Regions from separate parts of the Homo sapiens genome. Here all the other regions are linked to region 3. The links are contacts of gene promoters, found by promoter capture Hi-C in blood cells and fetal thymus (Javierre and others, 2016). All regions are on one chromosome and are shown on one strand. Each heading gives the region's core, a stretch centred on a gene start or on the middle of the fragment in contact. The rest is flanking DNA. Distances are from core to core; before and after follow the strand shown. Region 1 overlaps UTP20 (UTP20 small subunit processome component). Region 2 overlaps UTP20 (UTP20 small subunit processome component). Region 3 holds the start of ACTR6 (actin related protein 6).

Region 1 (2,700 bases), core at 61-2,560, 1.1 Mb before region 3:
GTCTGACACACGAGCTCTGGGGTAGGGCAGCCCAGGGTTGAATCTGGCACCATTACTCATAAGCAGTGTAACCTCAGGCAAGTTGCTTAACCTCTTGGTACCATCCTTATGCAACAAATATTCATTGAGTACCTACTATGTACTGTGACTTTTCTAGATACTGTAGATATAGCAGTTAACAAAAGACAAAGTTCCTTTTCCTGGAACTTATATTCTAGTAGGGGAAAGTAGCCAATAAATAAGTACTATGACAGTGATGAGCGTCATGGAGAAAGGCTCCATGAAACCAGGTTTGGAGAAACCAGGTTCTGGAGAAAACCCTGGTTTTCTCCAGAAAACCAGGGGAAAAAGGCTTGACAAAGAGATTGACATGCAGGGAGTTGTGGGGAGACGGTGTGGAGGTGAAGAGAAGCACCATTTGATACAGGGGTGCTCCTAAAAAACGGAGACCAAAGGAAGTGAAAAAGTCAGCTAAAAGGGTATCTGAAAGAAAAGCATTCTAGGCAGAGGGAACTGCAATGCCAGTCTGAGGTGTGCTTGTCTGCAGGAACATCGAGGAGGCCATCTCAGCTGGAACTAACAAAGAGTGCCTGAAGATGTCAGAACTAGCCAGGAGTTAGCTCATACGGAGCCCCGAGGAACATGATGAGGATGCTGGATTTTATAGAGTGAGATGGGATACCTCTCGAGCAAGGTTTCTCTACAGTAGCACTACTGACATTTTGGGCCAGAGAACTCTTTGTGGTGGAGGGCAGTGCTGCCCACTGCAGGGGGCTCAGCAGCATCCCTGGCCTCCACCCACTAGATGCCAGTAACAGTGCTCTTTCCCCATGCTGTGACAGCTGGAAAGTCTCCAGGTTTGCTCCCAGTTGAGAAGCACTGTATTAGAGGGTGATGAGCAAAGGAGTGGCATGATCTGTCCTATACTTAGAAGCAGCAGGGCAAGAGCGGAAGAAAGGAGTTCAGACCAGGGCTTTCTTTTGAAACTTTAGTTCCTCCATCTATACTGATAACAGTACCCACACATCATGGAATTGTTGTGACACAATCAATGCAATTGTTTATTACTATTATTGCATGCATTGTATAACTTAATCTCTACAAGGTGAGATTTCTATTCCTTCCTTTTTTTCTTCACTACCCCTTTTTGAGAGATAATCAAGTTGAGGTTAACTAAGTCACCCAAGGCTACAGCTAGTAAGTGGTGGATTCAAGAGTCAAAACCAGGCAGTCTTGGCTGTGAAACCTAGGTGCTCATCAGTCTACTAGCATAGCAAAGAGAACAGAATCCTGCATCTACTCTGCAAGTTTATGCCCCTGCCCTCAAAACCAGAGCCACTCCTGTTGGACAACTCTGTGTCTCCAAGGCTTAGAGCCACCTGGCTGGGAGGCAAGCTGGCCTTCCCCAAGGGGAACATGGACCCCATTCTGTGCTATGTGTGTCTTTTGTTTCAATTTCTACAGCCACCTTCAATTGTTTATACCAAGGGTGAAAGTATGAGAAGTTTAAACAGAATGATTTTAAAAGGGAGACTATGTAATATGGTAAATGTGGTGATGTCAAAGAACTAATCCTCTCTACAGGAAGTTAATTTAAACCAATGCAATTAACCATGGAGAAATGCCAACTTCACCCAGATTTGGAAAGGCAAAGAGATTCCAGATTATTATAGTATTCCCCTACAGTCTCAACACAGCAGCCGGAGTGATTCTGTTTAGGTCAAAGTCATTCCACTGCCAAAAATCCTCCCATGGCCTCCCCTTTCATTCAGAGTAAAAGCCAAGGCCCTACGGTGACCTAAGGAGGTCTACTGCCTCCACCTCTCTGTCCTCTTCTCCTACAGCCCACTCTCGTGCTCTGCTCAGCCAAGATGACCTCTCCTTGCTGTTCAAGCCAGGCACCCACCACCCCCACAGAGCGTTGGCATTCATGTCGCCTCCAGGTCTGGAACCCAGGGAGCAGCCCAGACCGCAGGTATCCTCATGGCTTACGTCCCTCACTGCTTTCCGCCTTCTGCTTAAGTGTCTCCTCCTCAGTAAGTTCACCTTGATTTAAAACTGCTACCGCTCCCCTCACCTCTGGACTCTCCCTATCTCCTGACCCTGCTTTGTTTTTCTTCACAGCACTTAGCACCTCCTAACACGCTATATAGTTTACTTTTTATTCTGTTTAGTGCCTCTTCTGGCTAGAGCATTAGCTACAAGAAGGCAGGGAATTTTGTCTGTTTTATTCACTATGTTTCACAGTGCCTGGAACAGGGCTTGGCATGTGAGAAAAGCAAATGATTACCTACTGAACAAAGTGAATGAATAAATCTTTAAAACACTTGGAAATAAAATGGAGTAGACTTCAGGAAAAAGCAGCAAGGCTTGACCTTTAGAAAAGATATATTGTTGGCTCCTCTCAAATGGCTCTGTGCTGCTATCAAAATCAAAGGCTGGCTAAACTATACTTAAAAAGCAAACAAAGAAACCAAACCAACAAAAAAAAAGAAACTGGATTGTTTCAGTGTGTAGTAAAAAGACCACAGGGAAGTTTTCTGAAATGCTGATCACCTCAAGTTGAGGCCGAACAAGAGTGGGAATGTGCATGTTGGAACCACTAAAGAAGTTATAAAAGGTCAACATCATGCCACGTTACAGTTGGGAATGATCAGCATTACAAACCCTTCAAACTTTACGACATTAATCTACACACGC
Region 2 (2,700 bases), core at 33-2,532, 1.1 Mb before region 3:
TACTGTATCTCAACAGTAAAATTTAGGAAAATATTAAATTTAATTATATTATTGTCACAATAATACTATGGTAAGATCTTCTTTATATTAGGGCCCAGGCGCAGTGGCTCACGCCTGTAATCCCAGCACTTTGGGAGGCAGAGGCGGGTGGATCGCCTGAGGTCAGGAGTTCAAGACCAGCCTGGCCAACATGGTGAAACTCTTTCTCTACTAAAAATACAAAAATTAGCCAGGCATGGTGGCGCACGCTTGTGATCCCAGCTACTCAGGAGGCTGAGGCACAAGAATAGCTTGAACCTGGGAGGGCGGAGGTTGCAGTGAGCTGAGATCACACCACTGCACTCCAGCCTGGGTGACAGAGCGAGACTCCCTCTAAAAAAAAAATAAATAAAGATCTTTCTTTATGTTAGGAACAAAATTTAGTCTCTATACCAATTTGGCTTCTCCCAAAGGTACAATTCAAAAAAAAAGCAGCTGGCGGTGATGGCTCACATTTGTAATCTTAGCACGTTGGGAGGCCAAGGTGGGAGCATCACTTGAGCCTGGGAGGTCTAGGCTGCAATGAGCTGTGATCATGCCACTGCACTCCAGCCTGGGTGACAGAGCAAGACCCCATCTCCAAAGAAAATGCAATCAAAAGAAAATAGAAAATGAAATATTCTATTACAGTTGTTGAAAGAACCATAATACTGTACTCACAATTGTGTTTGTTATTAACTTTTTAAAAATCAGTGTTTGAACAGCATAAATACCTCATCAGAATAGGAAATAGATCTGCTCGGTGGGCTGTTTTCACTACAGCATTATCTTCTGAAATGCTAAAATGCACTATCTCTTCCTTAAAGCTTCTGTCTTCAAGCAACCTTTGTAAGTTTTCCCTTTAAAAACAGAGAACAGCACAAATCACCACTTTATCAACAGTGCTTTTGAATAATGAAAGAGTGAAATATGTACACAGAGTAATAACTAAAATAAGGTATATAGTACATATTATGGTTGATATCCATAAAGGAAAATCCTCAAAAAAATCTCCTAAAATGACAGATTTGTACATTTCAAAAGGTATAACGGATTAGAAAAGATTAGATTCTGTCCATAACTCAGCTGTTTAAAAAAGCATGATACAAAAAGCTTTCCTCAGTTCTTAGAGTGACTTTGATTCTCTAAGTAACCACCAAGATTCTATGGCATTATATTAATAAGAAGAGGAAAATGACATAATATTTACAACACAGTTTTAAAATTAACATTCTCTATTTTAGTATCATGGAGAACAACCCAACAAATATACTACTCGTTTTCATTTCTTGCTTGGAAATACGATGACCTCAGAAAAAAGGGAAACTTTCTAGGCCTTTAATAAATTATTCTAGAAGAGGCTCTTAGGCAGAAATATAAAAATCAGCTGAAGAAATAACAGTTCTTTAAGCTTCAAGTAACTTACCTGTAAGGGAGGACATGAGGATGTTTATATGTCATTATGCAATCCAAGGTTATTTTTTGCACCATTTGATCTTGGTGTAGCAACAACTAAGAACAGTATTTTACAGAATTAATGAAGTCATATATACATATACCATAGGATAGCAATTTACTTGTGGTTATTTGCTAAATGAGATTTGAAAAATTCTAAATTTTTACACAAGACCTAAACCTGATTGCTAACAACAGCTTCACATTTTCCTGGAAGTAAAAAAAGATGAACAGAATATATGCAAAGTAAAAATGGAAACAAAACTCTCTGACACCTGCATCCCACAGTCATACCCTGGGGTCTACCAGCTTTTGGGTGAGGCCAATCCTCTCTCTCTTTCTCTTTTTTTTTTCAAACAGAGTCTTGCTCTGTTTTCCAGGCTGGAGTGCAGTGATACGATCTCGACTCACTGCAACCTCTGCCTCCTGGGTTCAAACGATTCTCCTGCCTCAGCCTCCCGAGAAGCTGGAACCACAGGCACCCACCACCACACTTGGCTAATTTTTTTGTTTTTGGTAGAGACGCAGTTTCACCATGTTACCCAGGCTGGTCTCGAACTCCTGAGCTCAGGTGATCTGTCCGCCTTGGCCTCCCAAAGTGCTAGGATTACAGGCGTGAGCTACTGTGTGCAGCCTGGTGAGGCCGATTCTCTATGTGAATCTGGATTTAAGCCAACTAGGCTGGTCATGTACTAAGGAAAATCTCTTATCCTATGAAGGTAATGATAGTCAATAAGATGCCAGAAGAAACATCCAAATGAAAAATGAAAATTTTGTTTCCCCAGATGGCTTAGAATTACATCCAATGCTTACTTCATTTCTGATATTAATTTTTTTCTGCAAGCTTATCTGAAATTCAGGGCCACGTAATTATGACTGCAATGGACTACAATAGATCCTGAAATCCCAGTCCTCTATGAAGTCTGACTAAACTAGAAGGGAAAAGTAGTCACTTGTTTTTTTGTATAAACCCTACTCCCTTCTAAAAGCTAATTTCCATGATATAATTCATGCTTTGCTATTCTCACTGTTGACACAGCCAATCAATGTTTAGTCACCCAAAATGCCTTCAAAATCAGCTAAGTTAGTGCTAAAACTGTTTCTCAAGATAACAGAAAATATGTCTATTAATTAAAAAAAAAAAGGCTTTAATACTTAAAATGTAGACATGGGCCCTATTCAGCAATTATTGAAAATCTAAGCTACTCTGACAAAGAAAATGATAGA
Region 3 (2,700 bases), core at 68-2,567:
GTGAAACCCCCGTCTCTACTAAAAATACAAAACTTAGCCAGGCGTGGTGGTGCGCAACTGTAGTCCCAGCTACTTGGGAGGCTGAGGCATGAGAATGGCTTGAACCCGGGAGGCAGAGGTTGCAGCGAGCCGAGATCGTGCCACTGCACTCCAGCCTGGACAAGAGAGCCAGACTCCCTCTCCAAAAAAAAAAAAAAAAATTGCTTTGTCAGCTGGGTGTAGGGCTCACGCCCCTAATACCAGCACTTTGGGAGGCCAACGCGGGTAGACTGCTTGAGGCCAGGGGCTCGAGACCGGCCTGGCCAACATGATGAAACCCCGTCTCTAACAAAAATACAAAAAATTCGCTGGGAGTGGTGGTGCACGCCTATAATCCCAGCTACTCTGGAGGCTGAGGCGGGAGAATCACTTGAATTCAGGCTGCAGTGAGCTGAGATCGCACCACGGCACTCCAGCCTCGGTGACAATGATAATGATACACATTGCCAAAACGTTTTCCAGAAAGATTGTAACAATTTACATTCCTACTCAGTTTGATTTCCCTCTTTCATTTCTGTTTCAAAAGAAATGAAAAAGAAGGAAAGGAGGGAGGAAGGAAAGAATTTTTTTTAATGCTCTGTTAATTTGATAAAGGAAAGGCGTGTCTTTAGGTTTGCTTATTTATTCAAACATATATTTTATGACTATACATGTTATGAATGCCATTGTATTAACAGTACTTCTGTTTAATTGACCTTACCAACTAGGTCGGCCAGTAGGCCAAAGTCTTCAAAGCCTCTAGATCCTAAGACCGTGATTTTTAGACTTTTGGAGGGTCATAGAACCCTTTGAGAATCTAATGAAACCTATAATCTTGTACCCAGGAAAATCCGCATACACCCAAACACCGTGCCCATAGTTTCCAAAGGCTGATGAACTTTACGGACCCTTCTGTCAGGAACGCATCTCTATAAGCCTATTTTCTTTGGCTATTTCCTGTTACGAAATAAAACATATATCCCACTTCCGGGGCCTCGCAGCCCAAAACTAAAACCAAAATCAATTTCAATTCAAAGCATCACAATCACCCACCCAGCTCCAACCAGGGAATCCCTCTGGCTAAGTCAGGGCCGCGCGGGGGTGTCTGCAGTTCATTGATGTCCGGAGATGAAACGTAGCACATGAAACCACTAGGCGTATATATCTTGTCCCTCGGAGAAAGAAAGTACTTACGACACATTTTCATGGCTGTAACCGATTTTGGCGTTGTAAGCTCCATTATCCAGCACTAAGGTCGTCATCTCACCACCAACCACACCGCAGCCGTAGTTGTTTTCCCTTTCCGACCCCTCTGCTCGAGCTTTTTCCGGTACTCTATGGTTTGTTGGGCGGAGCGTTAGGACGCGCCTCTGGTCACCTTAGCAACGGAGGACGCCGGAAGTCGGAGATGCTAAGCAGCACCGAATGTTAGGGGCTGTGCTTCCAAACTTAACCTGTTTATGTGGTGGCGAGATTTGACTACTATGTGCTTTCTCGCTCATTTCGTATTTGTTTTTAACTACGCAGATTAATTCGCGCAAGTTTTTTCTAATCCTGTAGAGAACCGGCTGCGTGTGTGTGTGTGTGTGTGTGTGTGTGTGTGTCTTCCAATCGCATTCTTCAGACGGTGACATTCTTTGAAGAAAAAAGTGCAAAACTTGCTCTTGGACTCACATTCATACTCTCCTCTTCCCCAGCCCACTTGCTCTTCAGGACGAAGCTGAGTGAGTCTTTCTCATCCAAAAAAGGCTTTTGGGCCGGACGCGGTGGCTCACGCCTGTAATCCCAGCACTTTAGGAGACCAAGGCAAGCAGATCACTTGAGGTCAGGAGCTTGAGACCAGCCTGACCAACACGGCGAAACCCCGTCTCTATTAAAAATACAAAAAGTAGCCGGGCGAGGTGGCGGGCGCCTGTAATCCCAAGTACTCGGGAGGCTGAGGCGGGAGAATTGCTTGAACCGGGGAGGCGGAGGTTGCAGTGAGCCGAGATGGCTCCACTACACTCCAGCCTGGGCGACAGAGCGAGACTCCGGCAGGGCGGGGACTTGGCAGGTGCGGGAGGCAGGACCTGGCTTCCGGGGCGTCGCGGGGGCAACGGCCAGCGGGCGGGGGCAAGGGCCAGCGGGCTAGGACAACTGCCAACGGGCTTGGAGGGGGGCGTTCTACAAATTCCAGGCCACTTTGAGCGCCTGAGAGAGGAGCGGGGCGGCGGGAAGGGGGCACCGCGGGGGCAGGGAGCGCAGCAGCCGCAGCGCGAAGGCGCGGGGGCCGGGGAACAAACGGTTGGCGCGCAGGCAGCCATACCGGGGCCGGAACCCGGGCAGAGGAGGGCAGCGACGGCGATGGGGAGGCTGCAGAGCCCGGGGCGGGTACCGCGCGGGAACCAGCGCGACTGCGTGGCTACCGCAGCCGTCGGTTCGTGTTGGACGGGCGCCGCTGCTGCCTCTGCTACTTCAAGAACCCCCACGACCCGCTGCCCCTCGGCCACCTGGACATAGCAGAAGCCTGCTTCAGCTACCAGCGCGCCGACGAGGCGGCGGAGCAGCCTGCGCACTTCCAGGTGCGCAGCGCGGGAGCCGCCACGGTGCTTGAGGTGGGAACTCGCGCCCTGCAAGCGCCTGGGCCCTTCTGTCGGCGCTCCTTGCCTCCCCTGGGGGCCTGCCCCATCCACCCTCCTTTCT

What was found. The method cuts DNA at HindIII sites, captures the fragments that hold promoters and counts their contacts. A CHiCAGO score of 5 or more calls a contact.
Region 1: a contact is called between a fragment that was not itself captured here and the fragment with the promoter of ACTR6 in region 3, in 3 of 17 cell types (total CD4 T cells, total CD8 T cells and total B cells). The highest score is 6.1, in total CD4 T cells.
Region 2: a fragment that was not itself captured here is called in contact with the fragment with the promoter of ACTR6 in region 3 in 6 of 17 cell types (naive CD8 T cells, naive CD4 T cells, total CD4 T cells and 3 more); the score reaches 8.2 in naive CD8 T cells.

The regions. Positions count from the first base shown.
Region 1 is chr12:101,302,771-101,305,470 of GRCh38, reverse strand. The region is part of intron 15 of UTP20 (UTP20 small subunit processome component); the gene reads right to left. Among named protein-coding and RNA genes, the nearest start is that of UTP20, 24 kb to the right of the region's middle. The HindIII fragment of the contact is 8,224 bases long and covers 1-2,700 here.
Region 2 is chr12:101,319,682-101,322,381 of GRCh38, reverse strand. UTP20 (UTP20 small subunit processome component) reads right to left here. Exons shown (of 62, transcript NM_014503.3): 24 at 1,445-1,530; 25 at 753-878. Among named protein-coding and RNA genes, the nearest start is that of UTP20, 41 kb to the right of the region's middle. The HindIII fragment of the contact is 298 bases long and covers 1,134-1,431 here.
Region 3 is chr12:100,199,432-100,202,131 of GRCh38, reverse strand. ACTR6 (actin related protein 6) reads right to left here and starts at 1,317. Exons shown (of 11, transcript NM_022496.5): 1 at 1,213-1,317. The coding sequence starts at 1,280. RefSeq lists enhancers at 1-209, 1,054-1,253, 1,227-1,521 and a silencer at 2,014-2,373. The HindIII fragment of the contact is 11,223 bases long and covers 1-2,700 here.